Linked DNA regions of Homo sapiens: all the other regions are linked to region 4. Evidence: promoter capture Hi-C in 16 types of primary human blood cells and fetal thymus (Javierre and others, 2016). All regions are on one chromosome and are shown on one strand. Each heading gives the region's core, a stretch centred on a gene start or on the middle of the fragment in contact. The rest is flanking DNA. Distances are from core to core; before and after follow the strand shown. Region 1 holds the start of CEP350 (centrosomal protein 350). Region 2 overlaps IVNS1ABP (influenza virus NS1A binding protein). Region 3 holds the start of ACBD6 (acyl-CoA binding domain containing 6). Region 4 holds the start of DHX9 (DExH-box helicase 9). Region 5 overlaps TOR1AIP1 (torsin 1A interacting protein 1). Region 6 holds the start of TOR1AIP2 (torsin 1A interacting protein 2).

Region 1 (3,733 bases), core at 293-2,792, 2.9 Mb after region 4:
GATACACATGTATTTATCCACATATACAATGTATTCTAGCTTGAAGTTTATTTTCAGATTACAGTATCTTAAATTTAATGCACTGACAGTTCAAATGATTCAGATTTATTTCATTACATTAAATAAAATTTGTCAATTTAGCACACCGAAACTAATTATTATACGCCCATGGCTTTGAAGCAACTTCCAGCATGGGTCTAACAATCCCTCAAAGTCACAATTCCATGTCATTAGCAGTGCATTTCCTTGTTTAAAAACAATATATTAAACGAAGAAATTTTCAGAATGGAGGGCAACTTTTAGTATTTTATCATTGTTTCTACAGAACTTTTCAGATTGTTACTAGCTCTGCCAAAGATAGTCTTTCTTTTAAAACTCTTCAAATACAGGGCAGGAGGTATCGTTAACATGGCAACAATAACGACTTCCCCAAATTCAAAACAAGGATCACCATCAAAACAAAACAATCAGGTGGAGTACATGGATATTGATCACTATTTCTGACAACCTGTTTTTTCCCATATGAAGGATTTGCTACTGCATTAAAACATTAAAATCTATGCCTATGTGCAACTTTCTATCTGAATATTTAAAATCCAGGCAAATTCCAATTCATATCTTGTGACATTAGCTAAATATTACTTAGCATGTTGAGCTGCATTTAAAAGGCAGAGGAAAATACTGACAACTTCCAAAACATAAAGCCTTTTAAATCTTTCCCCAAATTATCTGTGAATAAACTACCTTCAGCAGCCGCTAGACTAGAGTAGATCAAAGTTTTCCCTATACTTGAGAATGTGATCCCCACTGAAAAGGAACAGAAACTGATCATCCCTGCCACTGGAGCCAGTCCCCGGAATCTCCCCAAATACGCCTGATCGCCAGATGAAGAAGGGACACTTCTCCGGGCAGCAAAGGCTAGAGGTATCTTACCTCTGCAGGCTAGAGGAGGGGTGGAGGAGGCGGGAGGACACTGGCACGTAAGGAAGGAAATTCCGTCTTCAGCAGGCACTGGTGGGACCCGAAACCTAGGTCCCCGAAAAGCCTCAGAACCCAGGGAGGTTCCCCGAGGGGGACGCCAAGCAGGGCCAAGACTCTCCGCGCCCGGCCCCGCCTCTCTTGCCGCCACCGGGGACCCGGGACCGCGGACAGAGACAGTTGAGGCTGAGCGAGACTCCGCGGTCCCAGCCAGGTCCTACAGGAGCTCACCTGAGAGTGTCGCCTCCGCCCTCGGCTACCACGGTGCATCCCGCGGAGCCTGGCGGAGGGTGCAGTGACGCCGCCCCGACCGGCCCCAGGGCTGCCCGGCCTGGCCTCCCCGCTCCGGGGACGCACCGGGTGCCCTCCTCGCACCGGCTCCGGGGATCCGCCGGTCCGCTGGGAAGGAAGACAAGGCGGAAAGGCTGCCTCCCCTCCCTCAGGGCAAGCCACCCCCCGAGCTGCGGCTCCCTGCAGTTCTCTCTGGCGCAGGTCTGGCCCCGCTCCCCGGCCCGGGAGTCACTTCGTCAGGGGCGGCCCAGTCGCCATTACAGCCCAACAACTGACACGGAGGAGGAGCGGCGCCAGCGGCAGCGGCTGTGGCGGCGGCGCGAGGCAGGGCGGGAGCAGTCGGGCCCAGGCAAACCTCGCGAGAACTGTCCCGAGACAGTGCCACAGGCATGCCAACCTTCGGTTAGGGCCATGTTGAGTGTGGCCGAAAGGTGGGAGCGAAATAAAACAAGGAGCAGAACCGCGAAGAAGCCATGTTTGGTGCGTCGAAGTTTAAACTCGTAGGACTTGGGAGGAGCCAAGGTATATCCGCAGAAGAGACCACCCCTGCCCTTTCGCTTTGACGCTCATTGGGCCTTTTGGCTGCGCATTTCACCCCGGGCTGAGAAAACAAGCTGGGGATTCGACAAGAATGAACTCAAAGTCTGGAAACGGCAGCTTCTGAGAGTTTACAATGTTTCACCAACTGTCGTCCAAATAAGTCGTCACCCCTGTCAGAGTAGTTGCAGCTCTGCCGTTACCCACTGCTGTCACTGTGGCCGTTTTATTCGCGAGGGTTACAGTTCTGTTTAGCATGCATCTAATGACTTAAGACTCCACGCAAGTAAAACGGAGTTTCCTCCCATTAAGTATTGGCTTTGCTTTAACAGTGCTTTGAGAGGCTCTCTGTGGCCAACATATCTTCTCATATCTTTGTCCTCGTTTCCCAATCTCCGCGTGGTGAAATCATCTATCAAGACTTGGCTTAAAGGACCTCTCTTCTGCAAATAATGCCATCTTCCGCTAGGTGCTCACTGCACACAGACTCGCCGCCCACCACTTCTGTCCACCTTCTGAACTCCGATAGTTATTTACCCAGAGACTGTTTCTCATCTTTAAGTGTCGTGAAGACTTTAAGATCTGTTTTATCTCTCTATACCCCAAAATGGCCTAGCACAGTAACTAGGACATTGTAGGTGCTCAATAAATGTTTGTCGAATATCAATGACAGCAGGAGGCAGTAAATGGTCCCTCTTTGTAGGGCCTACAGCTGTGCCTGAGTAGGATGTACAGAAGTCCTGCATACGTGTGAAGTGTCTCCAGGAAGCTGCACTGGAGGGGACAGGAAATGTGGGTAATCGTATGGTGCAAGTGGTAGCAAAAAAGACAACATAAGGAAAATGTTATTTAGGTTTTGCCCAGTCTTGCTGTTTAAAGCCCTGTGTTAGATGCTTTTCATGCGCTATTTTACTGAATGTAAACAACCACCTTATTAAATATACTCACTTTTTTAAAACGAAGAAACACGTACTGGCCGGTCACAGTGGCTCACGCCTGTAATCTCAGCACTTTGCGGGGCCGAGGCGGGTGGATCACGAGGTCAGGAGTACAAGACCAGCCTGGCCAAGATGGTGAAACCCCGTCTCTACTAAAAATACAAAAATTAGCCGGGCGTGGTGGCGGGTGCCTGTAATCCCAGCTACTCGGGAGGCGGAGGCAGGAGTATCGCTTGAACCTGCGAGGCGGAGGTTGCAGTGAGCCGGGATCGCACCACTGCACTCCAGCCTGGGCAACAGAGTGAGACTCCATCTCAAAAAAATAAAAAAAAAGAAAGAAAGAAAGAAAAAGAAACAAGTACTGAAAAAGCTAAGTAATTTGCCCAATTTTATACCATCAATAAAAGGGAGCTGTAAGCTTTGGGATCTGCTTTGCCCCAAAGCCTGTTTATACTTTTTCAGCCCCATGCTATCCCCTTGACAACAGAGAAGACACCAAAGTTCTGTCACTGTGCTCAGAGCAGGGTTACCCTGGTATCAGCCTATGCACAATTTCTACTTCTTATACCTTGTGTTGGTCTGTCTTCTCCTCGCCTCCTAAATTCCCCAAGCACATCAATGTCTTTCTTTTCTAATATCCCGTTACTCTTGTGTTTACCCTACAGATTGGCCCTGAATCTATCAAGTTTTGTACTAGTTGCATATAGTTTCATGAGAGTAATTAATCTCTGGAACAAGATTGGAGGTTTACTGTGGAAAGGTTTGTGGCCCTTCCCAGACGTCTCCGCAGTGTTAGGCCGGTAATAGGTATTCAATATGGCTCCCTTGTTTCTCCTACTTTTTAGTAGACACTAAGATTGCATTTTTCTTTATATTCTTTGTTGATTACTGTGGCCTTGACTCTCACCACTCTTTGGATAACTGGATCTTGGCCCTAGACTAAATCTCCAATTACCCGTTACCCATCTTCACATAGATACAGAAGTCAC
Region 2 (3,790 bases), core at 308-2,807, 2.5 Mb before region 4:
TAATGTAGCAAGATCACACTTCTTCTCAGATAATTTGGGCTGAAGTCTGACCCTTTCAGCAATCTTCTCTGGTAGGGTGGCTATGTCAGCCTTTGATAGCATGAATTAAAATTAATATTTTTCTTAAGAGTTAATCACATAACTTATATCCTCAATTCTGTGTTCTCCTAAACTTCCTGTGCTCTCTAAAAGTATTCCTTCTAGAATTTAATGCCAGTAAAAAGTACTTTTGGAAAACAGGCATTTAATCCCCTAATGCATGGGGGTCAGTAAACTTAAGGCCTACTGGCCAGCTGCCTATTTTTATAAAGTTTTATTCAAACACAGCCATGTGTGTTCATTTACATATGGTCTACACTGCTTTCCAGCTACAGTGACGGAATTGAGCAGTTGTGACAAACAGAATGGCCTACAAGCCTAAAATGCTTTTACTATCTGGCCCTTTAAGAAAAAGTTTGATTTGCTAGCCCTTCTTCTAATACCACTCCTTTGTTCAAAAATCCTTCCTTAATTTACAGTACATATCCCTGCATTTAGTTTCTAGATTTTCCCTTATATAGTTGCTGTCTTTCCAAAACTATTTCCTAGTTATCTTTTCTCCAACCAAATTAAATTGTTTGCAGCATCTTCTCTACTTCTGTCTGCATTCAACATCAACATCATCTCTCCTGTAGAGCCCAGTTCAGATACTGCGTTTCATGAAGCCTTACCAAATTATTCTACTTGAAAATACTTATGTGAACTTACATAGCATTTCAATTTGTTGTACCTCTCCTTAAACTAAAACTTACATATCTGTATGGCATAATTAGATGTTTATCATTTGTATACGTGTTATTACCACTATTAACATTTGTTGTATTAAGACAGTGATTTTTGATTCTTTGTATCTTCACATAGTCTTTACCACACTGAACATTAAATATTTGTTGAATAAAAGATATGTAAGTGTTGGCACTCATATATTTCTTTTCCAAGGTTTGTGGTGATTATTTACTGTCTAGAATGGATGTTACCAGCTGCATCTCTTACCGAAATTTTGCAAGTTGTATGGGAGACTCCCGTTTGTTGAATAAGGTTGATGCTTATATTCAGGAGCATTTGTTACAAATTTCTGAAGAGGAGGAGTTTCTTAAGCTTCCAAGGCTAAAGGTAAGGAGTAAAGTCTATAAACAGATATATACTATCTAGTTCCAGGCGTGGAATCTTGGTCTGTGTTTCAAGCAAGTGAGTAATGATTATGAAATAATACATTGAAATTATATTGTTATTCTTAGCAGCGTAATGGGTTTCTCCCTACCAGTTTGTTTACTTTGTTTTTGATTCAGTAATCAAATTCCTTACAAATTCCTGGTTCCTTACAAATTCCTGGTTCCTTACAAATTAGAGTAAATGTATGGAATGAATTGTGCATCTGTGACAACTTTATTATGAAATTGGGAATTAAGCTGAGAACTAGGAGCCCAACACTGATCCATGTCATTGTTTTTCCCAATTCTAGTTGGAGGTAATGCTTGAAGATAATGTTTGCTTGCCCAGCAATGGCAAATTATATACAAAGGTAATCAACTGGGTGCAGCGTAGCATCTGGGAGAATGGAGACAGTCTGGAAGAGCTGATGGAAGAGGTTAGTTTTAAAGTAAATGGGATTCAACCATTTTTAAAAATTATTTTGCTATAACATGAAGGATTCCCTTTCACTTTTATTTTATAACCATGACCCTAAAGAATTTAAATTTTGCTATAGGTACCCCTAAGCTGAGAAACAGGGGGGGTGTCCAGGTGAGCTGAATGAACTGTTCAGTTTGGTCTTCTGCTTTTCTTTTTTTATTTCTTTGCTTATTATGTGCTGTTAACTTTCTTTAAAGTAGCATGTAATTTGCTTTAGAAATGGGAAGTGGTACTGAAATTTTCTGTAGATTCTTAATTTTTCTTCACAGGTTTTTGCTTTAAATTTGACAAGTAGGTAAAAGCTTCTAATGGTTGTTCCTCCCCATTGATTTATCTCCCCATAGGTTTATTAACAAAACTAGGATACCCAAGACTGAAGAAACAAGAAGAAACCTCAAGTGTATTGACACGTAAAGAAGCAGCAGTCCTGCCCCAGTTCTCCTAAGAAAAATCCGCTGTGGGCAGAGAACGATGATGATTTAATGGTGTTTACTCCTTTACAGGATTCTTGTCTTTAAAGCTGTGTGTTTTTCAATGGTGTTGTTCATACATATAGTCACTCACTTAACTTGGGCTACTTTTAAAAAAAATACACAAGATAAAATTGATGGAGAAATGGTGGGAATTGAAAACACGCAGGTGGAGCAGTGGAGTAACCTTGAGTTTCTCTCTCCACTTAAACCTTTCGGAGTTCCTTTATGAGGGCTTACCAAATCTGTTAGGCCTGCAGAAACACTGTCATCATTATGGTCTAAAAGGGCTAACAGATTATCTTTAAATTCTATGATTCCCACTTGAAAGTCAGATGCATTTGCCATGTATTTGCATCTGTCTCAATGGAGATGACTCTACAGCTTGCTTGAATTTTTGCATTTGTTTTTTCTTTGTTTTTCTTGACATTGCTTACAGGAAGGAAATATGTTTATGCAAACCAGACCACTTATCTGCAAAGGTGTAAACTATATTCAGTATTTTATTGTAAATATGTATATTCTTTAAGAGTATATATTGTACTAGTGCTTTTTTTCTTACTGTTATATGATAGAAGCTATGAAAAAAATGAAGATTTCTTTCAAGCCAATCAAGCCAACGACTCTTCAGCCAGTATTGGAAGATTTTGTATTTGATTTTGGTTTTTTGTTTTTGTTTTTTAATTTTTACCACCATGACATGTATTTTTCTTTACCTCCGGATCCTGCCAGAGTAATATGTCAAGAAGCTCAAGAAGCACACTGGAGGTTACCTTGAGGCGTTTGTGTAATCTGCATACTAGTGGAGTAGCCATGGTGACCGTAGCCACATGGGTGTTCTGTTGCTGTTTTGCAGGTTCAAACCTTGTACTACTCAGCTGATCACAAGCTGCTTGATGGGAACCTACTAGATGGACAGGCTGAGGTGTTTGGCAGTGATGATGACCACATTCAGTTTGTGCAGGTACACATTGCACAGTCTGAGGTAACCTCAGGTTAAAATTTGACTAGAGAATTTGATAGCATACTTAAATTTTCCTTTAATAAAGGAAAGTGGACCAATTTCATTGGTATAACTGGACAGAAACATTTTTGGGAGAAAACAAGCATATCTTAGAGTTAGTATTTTTGCCACATGAAAAGATATTAACAAATTAGGAAACCCTATTGAAATTTTTTTCTCATAAAGCAGGAATTACAAACAGTAAAGGCCAATAAGATGGAACAATATAGAAATTATTTGGGAAGATTATGAAAAGCAGTTGTTTGTGTCAGGCATGACTGATAGTTTTTTTTAAAAAGGGGCAGGGGGACTTAAATTGTTGATGGCTATGAAAGAAATTTTTGGATGTTACCTTAACTACTGAGCTGTCTTACTGGAAATTAGAAATGGTATAGTTAAGATGGACTATACAATGTAATAAGTCTAAAAGTGGTGGATCATATGTTAAAACCTGATCTAGATGTTTCTTTAACCAAGATGAATTAAAATATAGTAGAGTTCCACTGTGCTGATTGAGTTACTTTGCCTTTTATAAAATCCAATTTCATTTTTCCCCTATGAGTAAACACATAATTATTCAGACACATTATCAACAATTACTAGAGAACAAACTTCTCAAGTATAAATTTTTTAAGTTTATGGACAA
Region 3 (3,617 bases), core at 604-3,103, 2.3 Mb after region 4:
TATTCCCGCTGGGGAGGAGTCGAATTGTTGTATATTTATGTTCAGCTTTAGTAGATAGTGCCAAACATTTTTCCACAGTGATTGTACCAATTTATGCTCACACCAGCAGTGTAAAAGAATTCTGGTTGCTCTCTTTCCCATGTTATGTAAACTCTTCCAGAATACAGAAAAAGATGAAAACTTCTAAATGCATTCTACAAGGATTCTATTACCTTGATACAAAATTGAGAAAGTATAGAAAAGGAAAACTATAGGTTAATGACATCTTTAAATGGAACTGTAAAGATAATGAAAATATTAGCAAACTGAACCTACAAATTTTTTAAAAAAACCAAACCAGGACCAGAATGGGTTTATTCCAAGAACAGAAGTAATGCTCAAAACTAGGAGGTTTTGAAATAATGCATACTAATTTATCAATGTTAGCTATTATATAATTCATTAAATCCCAAATTTATTTTTGTTAATATAATTCATTAAAATAGAAACTGTTAATATAATTCCTTTCGAAGACTAGAGGAGAAAAGCAGATAATCTCCAAAGATGCCAAAAAAGCCGTTGATAATATTCAATTCTCACTTTAATAAAAATTCTAGAAACAAAGATATAAAAGTCCATGTTATATCTCCTTCAGTCTACTTGTCGGGTTCATCATCCATTATTACCCCACATGAAAGCTAACTTCTTTTTCCTTGCTCCTCCATTTGCTAGCTGTGTAGCCTTTGACAAGTTACTTAACCACTCTGTGCTGATTTCCTATGTGTAGTAAAATAAGAGTACCTACCTTATGTTGTAATGATCAAGTCCTCAATACATTATTCTTAATCACTTTTTAATTGCAAGAATTTGGTCATTAAACATCCCTTTGACTGGATTGCGAGCACCTTGACAGCAGGGACTAACAGTGGAACTTTCTGGAGACTTAAGGAATGTCTGTTGAATCCTGATGCAAGCTTTCTCACCTTCCTGTGTTCTCTCATTGCTTCCTCATCCTGTCCAGCCGTCCGTCCACCCGTCGCAAGCCTAACCCCAGTCAATAACCACTGTTTACAACACTTTCTTTGTACCCTTCTTATAGTGCTTATTACATTGTTTTGAATACTAAATGAATATATAGTGCGTCGTTGTGTTTAACATTTAGGACATAACCACTCATAATGTTACAGTTAAAAAAATAGTTTTGTGCATTCCTCTAGGGCCGAACTGTGCCGTACTTCTGGTTTCACTGTACAGTGTCTACAAAGCACAGTGTCAAAGACAGAGCTCGGGATGAGAACTGGGCTAAGGCGCGCCCCGAACTCCCCAAACCCTATTATTCAGGGCCCGGAGAGGTGCGGGCTCCGAAGGTGTGGAGAGCGAAACACGCAGAGCAGTGATTCCACTCATCAGTCACACAGTAAGACGGGACAGCCCCATCTCGCAGTTTTTCATTATTCAACACAGAGCCCAACGCGCACGCAACAGATCCGCGCGCAGGGCTGTTTGGAGGCGCTTGGGGCGCACAATCTGGGGCAGGCGGAACCTTAGTCCTCAGCCTCGCGTTTCCCGCGACTCCGCTCTCACCGCTACACTACCACACAAACGGCCTCCTTCCCCCACCCCCGGGGGCCCATCCCGGTGGCGGGCTCCGGAGCTCGGGACTGCTAATTTCAGCGAAACGATTAAAAGACGCCCCTACAGCTGACGGCACTTTCTCTCCTCCGGCAGGGAAGGACGTCCAGCGTAGCGTCGCCCGCGCTTCCCCGCCGGCGCAGAGCAGGCCTCACAGAATCGCACGCCGCTGGCACGCACGCCGCCCCGCCCCCACGGCCCAGCGCCAGCCGCGCCCCGCGCTCGCACGCATCCCGGCCTCACTGCCCCTCGACTCCTGTTCCGTTGGAGGGGCCTGAGGCGAGCCTGAGCGCGCTGTTGGCCGGAGGGAAGCCGGAGGAGACCGGGTCGACTGGGCAGAGCGGCAGAGGGTCGAGGAGCCTGCTCTGCACGCCCAGGGAGTAGAAGTGGGCAGGGAGCAGGGTCACGTGAGGGAGCGCGCCGCGACTGAGCTTGGGTCCGACTGGAGCTCAGGCTCGCGACCCAGACTGGTGGGCCAGGCCTCCAAGCCGGCCTTACACCCAATCCAAGGAGGACAGACCGGACACAGAGGGACGGAGCGAGCAAGGAGACATGGCTTCATCATTCCTGCCCGCGGGGGCCATCACCGGCGACAGCGGTGGAGAGCTGAGCTCAGGGGACGACTCCGGGGAGGTGGAGTTCCCCCATAGCCCTGAGATCGAGGAGACCAGTTGCCTGGCCGAGCTGTTTGAGAAGGCTGCCGCGCACCTGCAAGGCCTGATTCAGGTGGCCAGCAGGGAGCAGCTCTTGTACCTGTATGCCAGGTACAAACAGGTAAAGTAGCAGGGAGAGGGTGGATGGGGGAGAAAGACACGGAGCCTTCTTCCTCAACAACTGATAGCAAGCATGTATGGTTAATAGCTAGGTGTAATGAAGCTTGTGTATGTGTATTTTGTTTTGTTTTTTTTTTTTTGACCATCTGCTGGGGATGAGCATCATCCTGAACGTGGAAAAGATGTTTGCTTTCTTAGGAGTGATGTTTATTTAGCTGGACACTGGACATTGTTTTTGTGTTTTTTTCTCTGACTTATTCAGTGATCTTGCATTTTACCAGCCCAAGAACCTTTACAAAATGAGGATAAAATAAGATATATCATTCATTTACTCTTTCCCAGAGGGCCACATGGAAGTAAATACGGTAAAGTTAATAAAACTATATAGAGATCCAAAAAGATAATAGGATTGTAATAATGTGATGCAGGGCTGGGCGTGGTTGCTCACGGCTGTAATCCCAGCACTTTGGGAGGCCGAGGCGGGAGGATCACCTGAGGTCGGGAGTTGGAGACCAGCCTGACCAACATGGAGAAACCCCGTCTCTACTAAGTTAGCCGAGCGTGGTGGCGCATGCCTGTAATCCCAGCTACTCGGGAGGCTGAGGAGGCGGAGGTTGCGGTGAGCGAAGATTGTGCGCCATTGCACTCCAGCCTGGGCAACAAGAGCGAAGAAACTCCACCTCAAATAATAATAATAATAATAATGTGATGCAATGCAAAATGCAGTATTACAACTTTTATTGTGATTTTTATAAAATCCTAAATATCTTTGATTTATGTTTTCGTTGAGTATGTCTTCCTTTCTGTTTGATACAATCTAAAAATTTTAGAGCTATGAACACCAGAGGAAATAATGCCCTTCTTTTACAGTAAAGGAAACTGAAGGCCATAGAGAGTAGGCACCTTTCCTAGGGTCATACAAATACATCAGTCAGAACTGGATTGTAGCTCCTGACTCAGTCTAAGGCTGTGAACTTTACCTGGAAATAGGGAGGTGTATAGACACGTTTAATTTATAATTCAGGGTGACATTGGTTGGTACCAGAAGGAAAATAATTGCTTTATCATAAGCAACATATATTTGTTCAGCAGCTTTTATGTGCAAGACACTTGGGTATAATGCCTACAGAGAATGCAGAGAAGCAAAAACATCATGACACTTTGCAGAGAAGCAAAAACATCATGACACTCACTTTTTTTTTTTTTTTTTTTTTTTACAGAGGGTCTGGGTTT
Region 4 (4,031 bases), core at 712-3,211:
TCTCTCTTTTTTTTTTTGAGACGGAGTCTCGTTCTGTCGCTCAGGCTGGAGTGCAGGGGCGAGATCTTGGCTCACTGCAACCTCCGCCTCCCAGGTTCAAGCGATTCTCCTGCCTCAGCCTCCCGAGTAGCTGGGACAACAGGCGCCCGCCACCACGCCCAGCTAATTTTTTGTATTTTTAGTAGACACGGGGTTTCACCGTGTTGGCCAGGATGGTCTTGATCTCCTGACCTCTTGATCGGCCCGCCTCAACCTCCCGAAGTGCTGGATTACAGGCGTCAGCCACCGCGCCCGCCCGTCGTTTCTCTTTAAAGTCCAAAATTAAGTTCATCCAACTGTGGCACTAACTCACCCATTTGCATGCTAACTTGGCATCTCAGTCAAAACAGAATTTTAAATTTCCCCTCAAATCTGTTCCAACACCCTACCCCTACATTTCGGTTTCCATAAACGGTACGACATCCACCAAGTTACTCCTGGCACAAGTTGAGAGTCGTCCACTCCCTTAAGATTCTCCATAGCTATCCCTTGTAGAACCCTTAATGTGTGTCAAACAATATCCATAATAGATCATCTAAATGGAACTATTTTACTTAATCCTTAGTAACCTTGTACAGGTAAGATCACTATCCCTTTAGAGAAGGGGAAACTGAGACAAAGAATATCTTGCTTCAGGAAGACAGAGCTCCTAATTATAAGAGCAAGAATTCGGGCGGGCGCGGAGGCTCACGCCTGTAATCCCAGCACTTTGGTAGGCCAAGGCAGGCGGATCACGAGGTCGAGAGATCGAGACCATCCTGGCCAACATGATGAAACCCCGTCTCTACTAAAAATACAAAAATTAGCTGGGCGTGGTGGCGCGCGCCTGTAGTCCCAGCTACTCCGGAGGCTGAGGCAGGAGAATCACTTGAACCCGGGAGACCGACGTTGCTGTGAGCCGCCATCGCGCCACTGCACTCCAGTCTGGCGACAGAGCGAGACTCTTGCAAAAAAAAAAAAAAAAAAAAAGGCGCAAGAATTCCAGAAAACGTAGCCTGACTCCAGATCTACTACCTTCCACCACTACGCATTTCTGCTTCAAAATACGTCCCCTATCCATTCGTTTCTCCCCATCTCTCCTGCCACCACTACTGCACACCCGGGCTAGTGAAATATTGTCCTACACGGTTTTTGTTTCCACTCTTGCCACCCTAAAACCCATTCTCCTTTGAAGGCCTTCTCGCCACACTCCAGTCACATGGCCTGCTTTCAGCTCCCGCCCAGTTTCTGCCCTTAAGCGATAACTAATCCCTTCCGCTTCTGCAGGCTCTGCTTTTCCTTCGCGTTGGCCGAGGTTATCAGCTCAAAGCCTCCCTCCTTCGAGACGCCTTACCTCGCTATACTAGCCAAAGGCGCTCTCCCTTTACATTCTTCAATTTTTTTTCCTCTACCCACAAGGCCTGCACGACGGCGCCAGTTATTCGTGGCTTGAATGAATGAAGAGCCCTAGGCCAGTGGCGCCCCGGCGGCAACCACCACAGGCGAAGCACCCCCTTCCCTCAGCCGCCGCGGTGCCCCGGCGTACGCAGGCCAGAGGAGGAAGCGCGCTTTGCCTGCTAGAGGCAGCAGCGGGAAACGCTGGGCGGAGGAGAGGGGAGGGGGCCACAGGCTGCCCGGACGGCGCAAGCGCATCGCGGCGAGGCGCGCACGCAACCCGCAATCCGGGGACCCGCGGGCGGCTCGTCCCTTCCCCCACCCCCAGCCGCCGCCGCCGCCCGCGCTTCGCAACAAAGCCGGCTGCGGAGCCATGGTCCACGGCGCCCGCCCGCGACCCCGCCGCCCCGCATGGTAGCCGGAACGTCTCTCCCTTACCAGCCTTCGCTTCCTGGTGCCCAGCTCTTAGGACCGTGTGTGACTCTGGCCTTCTACCGAGACAACAGAGAAACGCACAGCAACTCGCATGGAGGAATCGGCGAAATGGCTCCGACCGCGGCGCTAGGGGGCGGGGCCAGCGAGCGTACGCATGCGCAGAGCGCGTGCCAGGGCGGGGGATGGCGAGGGCGCGCCAATGGAGGGGGCGGGGCTCAGCAACCTCGCGGCGCGGAAGGGTTTCGTTGCTAGGGAGATGGGCTGAGCCGGGCGGGCATCGCGCCAGACCTGCTACTCTGGATAATCCACTCTCCTGGATAATCCACTACCCTGGATAATCGGCTGCCCGCTTTTGCGCATGTTAGGGAGTTGACGGCCTGTAGCATTCTGATGCAGCAAAATATTTCGCAGGGTCTGTCATAGGGATCTCCGGTGAGAGGAGGTTCCCTTCGAAGGCAGAACTGGAAACCTTGCTGCTAACTTGGTAGGGTTGTTGAGATAATTACATGAGATGGCATATGAAGGGCGGCTTAGTTCAATACCTGGCATGTAGTAGGTGTTCAGTGGGCGTAGTTACCGGATTGATTCAGATAGTCTGAACGCCAGTGTCTCTTGAAAGAAATAAACTGGCCGGGCGTGGTGACTGTAATCCCAGCACTTTGGGAGGCCGAGGTGGGCGAATCACTTGGGGTCAGGAGTTTGAGACCAGCCTGGCCAGCGTGGTGAAACCCCGTTTCTACTAAAAAAAAAAAAAAAAATACAAAAATTAGCCGGGCATGGGGGCGGGCGCCTGCAATCCCAGCTGCTTGGGTGGCTGGGCGGGCTCCTGCAATCCCAGCTACTCGGGAGGCTGAGGCAGGAGAATCGCTTGAACCCCGGGGTCGGGGGCGGAGGCGGAGGTTGCAGTGGGCCGAGATCACGCCATTTTCTGGGCGAGAGAGCGAGACTCCGTCTCAAAAAAAAAAAAAAAAACCATGAAAGAAATAAGCTCAGTGAAGGCGGGCATTCTGCCTGGCTAACGCAGGTCGCTCCTTGCCGTGCCTGGAACATTACTGTAAGTGCTCAGCAAACTACTTTAAGGTAGGAATAAAATCTGCAAGGTTGCTTTTGTTTAAATTGGATAACCTTTTGTGTTCCAAGTCTTTGGAGTAATTTTGTGTTCCAAGTCTTTGGAATAATTGTGTCCTTAATTATTATACTAGTCACTGTTAAATTTTGAAACTCCAGTGCGTCCCATGAAGGTAATGATACAAAACATTTCCAGCTGGGATTGTTCCAGGGAATCCAGACTAATCAATTATCTGGGCTCATTATATCTATGGATCTTTATTTTTCACCTCTTTCCTTATGTTTTTCTTAATCCTTCTAGCTGATAGTGATCACTCCCTTTAAAACTGTCATTCTTAAAATCAGAACAACATAGTTTATCATTTACTTATTATTTTCTTCATGTGATTGTTCTCCTTAATTAAGAATAAAATCATTGAAGGAAAGACCTTAATTTTTTTTTTTTTGTACCCTTCAGGGTGTTGAAAGCAGCAGGGGCCTAGAAGACATTAAACCGATACCACAGAAATACAAAGGATCATTAGAGACTATTATGAACAACTATATGCCAACAAATTGGAAACCAAATGGAAATGGATAAATTCCTGAACAGATACAACTTACCAAAATTGGACCAAGAAGAAATAGAAAACCTGAAAAGACCAACTATGAGTAATGAGATTAAATCAGTAATATAGAGTCTCCCATCAAAGAAAAGTCCAGGCCCTGATGGCTTCACTGCTGAATTCTACTGAACAGTTAAAGAAGAACTCATACCAGTTCTCAAACTCATCCTGTGAGGGCAGCATTACCCTGATACCAAAACTAGATATGGACACAAGAAAAAAAATCTATAGGCCAGTATCCCTGATGAACATAGATGCAAGAATCCTCAACAAGACCAGGTGTGGTGGTTCATGCCTGTAATCCCAGCACTTTGGGAGGCCAAGGCAGGTGGATCACCTGAGGTCAGGAATTTGAGACCAGCCTGGCCAACATGGCAAAACCCTGTCTGTACTAAAAATACAAAAATTAGCCGGGCAAGGTGGCGTGTGCCTGTAATCCTAGCTACTTGGGAGGCTGAGGCAGGAGAATTGCTTGAACCTGGAGGGAGGAGGGGCAGAAGTTGCAGCGAG
Region 5 (3,837 bases), core at 787-3,286, 2.9 Mb after region 4:
GTGTTATGTTTTACATAGTTACTCTAAAAATTATATGGTAGACAAAACCTCTTTAACTAGGGCTGAATAGATTTTAGAATCTATAATAATGGAAAGGATATGTTGGAGATTTACATTCATTTGTTGAGCTATCAGAATAGTACAGTACAGTACACAGTACAGTAGTATGACTAATACAGTAATCCCTTTTTTCGATAGGTATGTTTTATCTGTATACATTTGAAGATATGTTTTATTTCTGTACACATTTGAAGTTCCAGGTCAATTTGTCTAGAGCCAATTCATTTAACAGTCATTTCTCCATATACCAAGTTGCCTAAAATTCAATCTTTTTTCTGCTTATCTATGTGTTATCTAATTAGCATGGAGAGATGGTTTAATAATTATTTTTTAGCCAGCTTACATAAGGGAGCTCCCCATTTGATTTTAATACTTCTAACATGTTATTATATTTGAAGTATCTAATAAATCATGGATTCTATCCATTTTTCAACACTTTTCAGACTTCTGGATTTAATCTAGTGACTAAAGATCCTTTTTTAGAATTCTATGTTCCTAACAATAAATATTTATCAATAGTATTCAAAACAAGAATAACTAGTTATGCAATGCTATCTTGATCCCATCACTAAAAACAAAAAAAGTACTATTTTGTGTTTTATAATCCAATAATATCTATGAATTAGATCTTAAATAATAATAATCCCCGTAGATTTGACAATCAATCATTATTGAATCAGGTTATCTACTGTCTTGGCTACAGATACATTTTAAAACAAGGTTTTCATTCTGGTAAACAAAGCTCAAGAAACCCAAGCCTGCTATGATTTCGAATGTCATTCTAAACATTATTTAACGTCTCAGATAAAGAATTATGGCTAGTGTGAGAGTATTGTCTGTAATATAAAAGACTTTAATTTCTCATATTGCATGCTCTCTAAAGGTAAAATGTCTATTATAAAGCAAACTGTAGTATTTGCAAGTCTCCGTCCTCATTCTGCCTGCTATTCATCCCTCAAAATTCAATCCAAATGTCATTTCCAACTCATAAAACCGCCTCAACCTCTTCCACTGAGTAGGGTGCTTCTCGTCTAGGATCCCGCAGACATATGTCACTATTTCAGCACTTAAAAAAAAAAAAGATTTGTAAACTTGTTTTTCTCTTCCATTACATCACGTACATCTAAGAGGTAGGAAAAAAAAAAAACCTGAATGGCTATTTATGATCCTAGCACTTAGGTCGGTCACTGACATAAAGAAGGTGTTTAAAAATGTTTGGCTGGGCATGGTGGCTCATGCCTTGTAATCCCAGCACTTTGAGGCGGAGGTTGCAGTGAGCCGAGATCACGCTCCTGCACTCCAGCCTGGGTGACAGAGTGAGACCCTGTCTCAAAAAAAATAAAAATAAAAAAAGTTTGTTCCATGAATAAAATAGATTTTATGATTATAGAATAAAGATGTTAAGTCCAGATTTTTGCTAATATTTCTCATACTATGATTAACGTTACTTAGCAACTTAAAAAGTCTGAAATTAGTGCTTAATAATTAGATACCTGCAAGGTTTTAAACATTCCACCTTTTTACCCAAGCTGCAAAGAATGGAAATAAATATTTAAGTGCGATCTGATGATGAATCAGTAGCCATGACTACATAAGCTTTAATTTCATTTCCCTCTTTTGTTTTTCACCTACCTCTATTTTAAACTTGGCTGCTACATGTCGAAAGTTAAAGCATTAGATTTTGTTTTTTGTTTTTGTTTTTTTTTTTGAGACAGAGTCTCACTCTGTCACCCAGGCTGGAGTGCAGTGGTGCAATGTCGGCTCACTGCAACCTCTGCCTCCCGGGTTCAAGTGATTCTCCCGGGTTCAAGTGATTCTCCTGCCTCAGTTTCCCGAGTAGCTGGGACTACAGGCTTGTGCCACCATGCCCGGCTAATTTTTGTATTTTTAGTAGAGACGGGGTTTCGCCATGTTGGCCAGGCTGGTCTTGAACTCCTGATCTCAGGTGATCCACCTGCTTCGGCCTCCCGAAGTGCTGGGATTACAGGTGTGAGACACCGTGCCCGGCCTCTTTTTTCTGAGACAAGGTCTCTTTTTGTCGCCTAGGCTGGAGTGCAGTGGCACAATCTCTGCTCACTGAAACCTCTGTGTCTTGGGTTCAAGTGATCCTCCAGACTCAGCCTCCCAAGTAACTGGGAATATAGGCACGTGCCACCACACCCAGCTAACAGTTGCATTTTTTTGTAGAGACGAGGTTTCGCCACATTGCCCAGGCTAAATTCCTGGGTTCAAGCGATCCACCTGCCTTGGCCTCCCAAACAGCTAGGATTACAAGCATGAGCCACCATGCCTGGCCTTAAAAAAATACTTTTTTAAAAAAGGTATTACTCTTCCCAATGTTCATACAGAAGCTTTGAGAATTAAAATCATATTTTGAGCAAAAAATCCTTAATATTAAAACATTATTAAAGAAATCATAAAGGCTGTGGCTTTAGCAAATATATAGACAAATGGTAATAATTAAACATGCTGTTTAAGAAGGTGTTATATTTTCCAGTAACCTCAACCAATTAGGAAAAGCTACTTTCAGAAGTCCGAGGTCTTTATGTTTAAGATAGATCACTTAACAGTCATCGCCTCTAGTGAAAACCAAGCATTAATTGTGCCACTTTGTTTACTTTCTTTTACTTGGCCAGTTTTTAAGGAATTCAAACCTTAGGTATAACCCGGCCTTTTACAACTTATAAAATTCCCTAGTTATTTTGAAAGCCCAGGTGCCAAAGCATCTACATTTCTCCTGTAGATTTTGCTATTCCTAGAAATTTGTGGGAGGTACTTGGTGTGAGGAGCAAAGGCCACTCAAGAAAACATAAACTTGGCTTACTTTGTGTTTTGTCTGGGGACAAAGACATGAAAATATAAATAAGACTACTGTGCTTTCTCAAAGGAATACTGGATAGAACACAGGAGTCATTGCTTCCTTCCTTTCTTTTTTTTTTTGAGATGGAGTCTTGCTCTTGTTGCCGACAGTGGAGTGCGATGGCACGATCTCGGCTCACTACAACCTCCACCTCCCAGGTTCAAGCGATTCTCCTGCCTGCCTCCCAAGTGGCTGGGATTACAGGTGCCTGCCACCACAATTGGCTAATTTTTTGTAATTTTAGTAGAGATAGGGTTTCACCATGTTGGCCAGGCTAGTCTTGAACTCCTGACCTCAGGTGATCCGTCCACCTCAGCCTCCCAAAGTGCTGGGATTACAGGCATGAGCCACCAGGCCCAGCTTGTTTCCTTTCTTCTTGTGCTCTGGGTACAACCTAGTATGGAGTGTTGTAATAAATATATGTTCGAGCAAGTATATAACTCCTGAATTTACTCTGACAACAAACAAATGACCATTTGCGTGATTTGTCGTCTTTATTCTTTTTTTTTTTTTTTTGAGACAGAGTCTCGCTCTGTCGCCCAGGCTGGAGTGCGGTGGCGGGATCTCGGCTCACTGCAAGCTCTGCCTTCCGGGTTCACGCCATTCTCCTGCCTCAGCCTCCCAAGTAGCTGGGACTACAGGTGCCCGCCACTGCGCCCAGCTACTTTTTTGTATTTTTAGTAGAGATGGGGTTTCACCATGGTCTCAATCTCCTGACCTCGTGATCCGCCCGCCTCTGCCTCCCAAAGTGCTGGGATTACAGGTGTGAGCCACCGTGCCCGGCCTTGTTGTCTTTATTCTTGCCATCAGTATAAATCAGGGGTCAGCAAACTTTTTTTATAAAGGACTAAATAGTAGATATTTTAAGCTTTGTGAGTCACATAAGGTCTCTGTTACATGCTTTGTCTTTTTCAGCA
Region 6 (4,079 bases), core at 1,028-3,527, 3.0 Mb after region 4:
GCTAACACACACACACACACACACACACACACACACATATATATATGCATCGGATTTTCCCTCTCATCTAGGTTGTAAGCATAAGGAAACCTACCTCTACTGTGACTGCCTCCTTCACCTAGAAACCTTACAGATACGAAACTTTCATCACTAGCTCTGAGGCAAAGCTAAACTGTTATGAAACTAGATACTCTGCTGTAGCTATTATCCAGACTATAAGAGTGGCTGAAAAGAGGTGACATTACAGTGACAGTAGAGTCATAGCCAATATTATAAGGGATGCGCTGGGCCACTAAAAAAGGATGCCTCAGCTCTGGATATTAAAGTTACTTTGGGAATTTGAGAAATCTGGAGGAATTCAGTGACCCAAAAAAGAAGACCGGTAAGAAAAGAAATGATTAAAACAAAGAATACACTTAATAATTCATTTACTTATCAAACGTGTGCCAGCAATGAGGAAGACTATCTTTAGGGAATTTGTCATTTATTGGGAACGACAGAAACACGAAAAATTACAATTCAGATTAAATGGCATTAATTCACACACTTAACTATTAGGGCTAGGTCTGGAAATCCTGTGCTCTTGAGACTGGGTTCCTAAATCAGTTATTTTATTTCATTTTTAATTAATTTATTTATTTAGAGACGGAGTCTCGCTCTTTCGCCTAGGCTGGAGTGCAGTGGTGCAATCTCGGCTTACTGCAGCCTCCCCCAACTCCAGGTTCAAGTGATCCTCCTGCCTCAGCCTCCCGAGTAGCTGGGATTACAGGTGCCTGCCACCATGCCCAGCTAATTTTTGTATTTTTAGTAGACATGGATTTTGCCATGTTGGCAAGGCTGGTCTTGAACTCCTGACCTCAGGTGATCCATCCGCCTTGGCCTTCCAAAGTGCTGGGATTACAGGTGTGAGCCACCACGCCTGGCCAAAATAATTATTTTAAATGAAACATTTTAGAACAATAAATTTTTTGTACAGGAACTTTTTGCTTTAGGGTAAGCAGAAGTTCATTTATTTAAAGAGATAAATCTATCCGTTGTGACTTAGTAGTACAAATGAAGTAGGCAAACAATTTTAATAAGGAAAAGATGATTAAAATATTAAACAGGAGGAAGTTAATTAAAGACATAGTAGCTGGCTCCATTTATTCCCCAGTCTTACAAATGATAGAAAAATATTTTAATGACAATACAAATGAAAATTCCTGGAAATGTTATACTGAAATTAATTAAACACAATAAAGTGAATGGAATATAGTATTCTTTTTGTTGAATTAGGACTTGCAGTTAATTATTAAACACCATCCAAGAGTGTTACCAAATCCTGTCACTTCTGCCAAGAGAGGGTGATTGAGAAGTGAAGGCACCAAAAATCACATTAAATGAGGAATTATTAATTCAATAAATACTTGAGCTACTGTGTAGTAGGCAGTCCCTGTTCTCTGTGCTGGGGATACAGCAGTGAACAAAATAGACTAAAAGACAAAAAATGTTTCCTGCCTTCTTGGAGATTATATTCTATGGGAGGAGTCGGGCAAAAATCAAAATAAGTAAAATAGTGTGTTGGTCAGGACTGTTATGGGAAAAAAAAGAGGAAAGGGGAAGGGAGTTTTACATGAATAGATTTCTTCTTGAAATTTGGTTAGATTTGTCCTGAATTGCTGTAGGTCAAGAACAGGAATTTTAGACTTACTTCATTTTTCCCCCAACAAATTGTATGTTCTTGGGTAAATTGCTCGCCATCTCTTAATTTTCACATTTATAAAATTAGTAGATCAAAACAGCTATTTTTTGTCACTACTGTCATTTAACAGAAATGCTGCATACGTCATCTAATCTACTAATAACAAACTTATGAGGTAAGTAACGTTGTCCCCATTTGACACACGAGCAAACTGAGGTTTAGATTAGGCAACTCATTGGATTACATGCTCCTCTTAATGGCACAGAGGGTGTGTTCCAGGACATGGTGCTTGCCATTATCATTTGGTACTGCTGCTCACTGTGTTGGTCCTATGAGTTTCTTCAGTCTATGAATTTCAGGTCAGGGTGGTCGACGTCTTACAGAGATGCCTGTAATCCTGTCAGCATGAGATTGCATGGGACCTCTGCGGTTTGGTCGCGCATTTACCGCGCCTGTCGCTGGGTCAGACGACCTGGCAGTAGAGGGTGAAGGATGGAGAAGGCAGAAGGCAGGGCACGGAGACTACTAGTCCCAGGATTCCACGGGCGCCTTCCGGCGGAAAGTGTTTGTCATATGGGCGGGGACCCTGGACGACATTCGGGCCGCGGCGGCCGCTGGGTGCAGCCGAGCGGTGTGGAGCGGAGAGAATACTCGAAGGGCTCTCCTGATACTAACAGTTTTACGATTTAAAACTTCGCCAGAATTTGTAAGTAAACAAAATGACTATGCAGCTTTTCCATGTTTTAGTATTGAAACTGATATCTTGAATTTTTGAAAAGGACTTTCAGAAACGGTCCCTCCCCACCCCCACCTTCGTACCGCACAAATGGTATTTTTATTTTTATTGTTTTTGAGACAGGTACTTGCCCTGTCACCGAGGCTAGAGTACAGTGGCGTGATCATAGCTCACCACAGCCTCATACTTCTGGGCTCAAGGGATCCTCCCGCCTCAGCCTCCCAAGTAGCTGGAACTACAGGCCCGCACCACCATGCCCTACTAATTACTTTATTTTTTATTTTTATAGCGACAGGGTCTCACTGTATTGCCCAGGTTGGTCTCGAACTCCTGGCTTCAAGCGATTCTCCCACCTCAGCCTCCCAAAGTGCTGGGATTACAGGCGTGAGCCACCACGCCTGGCCTCACTCAAACAGTAAACGAGGTAGGTTGGGGGTATATTTTTGTTTTGGGATAAAAAGAAACTGAATCTTATAAATATTAAATGGGTTAAGATGTGAGTAAATTTTTGGGTTTAGACTTTAAGGTGAGAAGCCGAATTATTTTAGGGTTCGAAATGTGAGTGGGAAATTTGCCTACTAGTGTAGGCGGCGATTACTCCATTCCCAACATGCCTAGGTTCTCGACATTCATAATCTTAATCCTGAAAAGATAATACTTAAAAAAAAAAAAAATTGGTGCTAAAAAGGGCAAAGTTGAAGTTTTAGTAAGACCTCCTACCATTTTGCTTACATATTATATATGTACCATTCTCCCAATTGTATTTAATACCTGATGAAAAAGTTTGTGCCTTTTCCTTCTTTTAACAAATTTCATAGTACTCTCTACTTTATGAGTAATGCTTAATTATCAGACTTTATACTGTTACACAGATCCAGAAATGAGTTACATAGATTAAACATACTGGCTTTGTTTTACCTGTCTTTAGGTTTTAACACATTTTATTTTGGATCTGTATGAGAGATCCTTTCTTTGTTTTAAGCTGTGGCAGTTATCCATGTTTTTTGAGCTTTTTTTTTTGAGCACAAGATGAGGATATAAAAGGCCAGTGGAAACATTTAATAAAAAAAGGAACTTCATGGTAGAGTAACTACAGATGTTTTTGGAAGACTTTGTGTGGATTAGAATAGTTTGAAAAACTAACATTTGTTATGAAAACTGAGTGCCTGTCTTCAGTAATGTTTATTATGCTGAACGTGCAGTCCACAACTTGATTACCTGTTTTTCTGCTGGTTTGTTACGCAACCTTGCGTGACTCATTTAAGAACTATTTTATCTAGTTTCTTTCCTAATGTAGAGGTAATGCTAGCTTGAGAGCTTCAATAATTTATAAATAAATTAACTTCAGAATGTAGCTAATTATTTGAGGATTATTGGGTGTTTTAATAATGTATTGTATCTTGTATATAACTTATTTTTGCCTAAGAAGTAATTTCTGTATTCCATTCATTTCCATGGAACACAGAAGTCAAAATTCTATTCCAGGAAAGTCCACACTTCTTTGAAGTGCCACTTGAATTTCCTGAAGGAATGTTTGCTTCAAAAAGCCTTGTCTGCTTTATCACTTTGAGGTTGTTCACTAAGTCAACTGTGAAGGCCCATAAACTTGGAGATTCGACAACTTCCAAAAAAATTTAAAGAATGAAGAATTGGCTGTTTTAT

What was found. The method cuts DNA at HindIII sites, captures the fragments that hold promoters and counts their contacts. A CHiCAGO score of 5 or more calls a contact.
Region 1: a contact is called between the fragment with the promoter of CEP350 here and the fragment with the promoter of DHX9 in region 4, in 6 of 17 cell types (naive CD8 T cells, total CD4 T cells, fetal thymus and 3 more). The highest score is 14.5, in naive CD8 T cells.
Region 2: a fragment that was not itself captured here is called in contact with the fragment with the promoter of DHX9 in region 4 in 1 of 17 cell types (fetal thymus); the score reaches 5.6 in fetal thymus.
Region 3: a contact is called between the fragment with the promoter of ACBD6 here and the fragment with the promoter of DHX9 in region 4, in 3 of 17 cell types (naive CD8 T cells, total CD8 T cells and naive CD4 T cells). The highest score is 7.1, in naive CD8 T cells.
Region 5: a contact is called between a fragment that was not itself captured here and the fragment with the promoter of DHX9 in region 4, in 1 of 17 cell types (fetal thymus). The highest score is 5.1, in fetal thymus.
Region 6: a contact is called between the fragment with the promoter of TOR1AIP2 here and the fragment with the promoter of DHX9 in region 4, in 1 of 17 cell types (total CD8 T cells). The highest score is 6.3, in total CD8 T cells.

What each region holds. Positions count from the first base shown.
Region 1 is chr1:179,952,619-179,956,351 of GRCh38, reverse strand. It overlaps CEP350 (centrosomal protein 350), which reads right to left and starts at 1,542. Exons shown (of 38, transcript NM_014810.5): 1 at 1,210-1,542. RefSeq lists a silencer at 1,108-1,557 and an enhancer at 1,345-1,846. The HindIII fragment of the contact is 10,111 bases long and covers 1-3,164 here.
Region 2 is chr1:185,304,851-185,308,640 of GRCh38, reverse strand. It overlaps IVNS1ABP (influenza virus NS1A binding protein), which reads left to right. Exons shown (of 15, transcript NM_006469.5): 6 at 979-1,152; 7 at 1,502-1,627; 8 at 2,998-3,105. Among named protein-coding and RNA genes, the nearest start is that of IVNS1ABP, 10 kb to the left of the region's middle. The HindIII fragment of the contact is 836 bases long and covers 1,140-1,975 here.
Region 3 is chr1:180,500,813-180,504,429 of GRCh38, reverse strand. ACBD6 (acyl-CoA binding domain containing 6) reads left to right here and starts at 1,853. Exons shown (of 8, transcript NM_032360.4): 1 at 1,853-2,385. The coding sequence starts at 2,164. RefSeq lists a silencer at 1,786-1,885 and enhancers at 2,096-2,285, 1,807-2,307, 2,415-2,930, 2,931-3,446. The HindIII fragment of the contact is 1,534 bases long and covers 956-2,489 here.
Region 4 is chr1:182,837,277-182,841,307 of GRCh38, reverse strand. It overlaps DHX9 (DExH-box helicase 9), which reads right to left and starts at 1,961. Exons shown (of 28, transcript NM_001357.5): 1 at 1,852-1,961. DHX9-AS1 (DHX9 antisense RNA 1) reads left to right here and starts at 1,717. Exons shown (of 2, transcript NR_148933.1): 1 at 1,717-1,996; 2 at 3,374-4,031. RefSeq lists a silencer at 1,642-2,071 and an enhancer at 1,495-2,336. The HindIII fragment of the contact is 6,331 bases long and covers 1-4,031 here.
Region 5 is chr1:179,893,850-179,897,686 of GRCh38, reverse strand. All of the region lies in intron 3 of TOR1AIP1 (torsin 1A interacting protein 1), which reads right to left. Among named protein-coding and RNA genes, the nearest start is that of TOR1AIP1, 13 kb to the right of the region's middle. The HindIII fragment of the contact is 755 bases long and covers 1,659-2,413 here.
Region 6 is chr1:179,876,001-179,880,079 of GRCh38, reverse strand. TOR1AIP2 (torsin 1A interacting protein 2) reads left to right here and starts at 2,277. Exons shown (of 7, transcript NM_001199260.2): 1 at 2,277-2,387; 2 at 2,707-2,841. RefSeq lists an enhancer at 1,943-2,302. The HindIII fragment of the contact is 9,006 bases long and covers 1-4,079 here.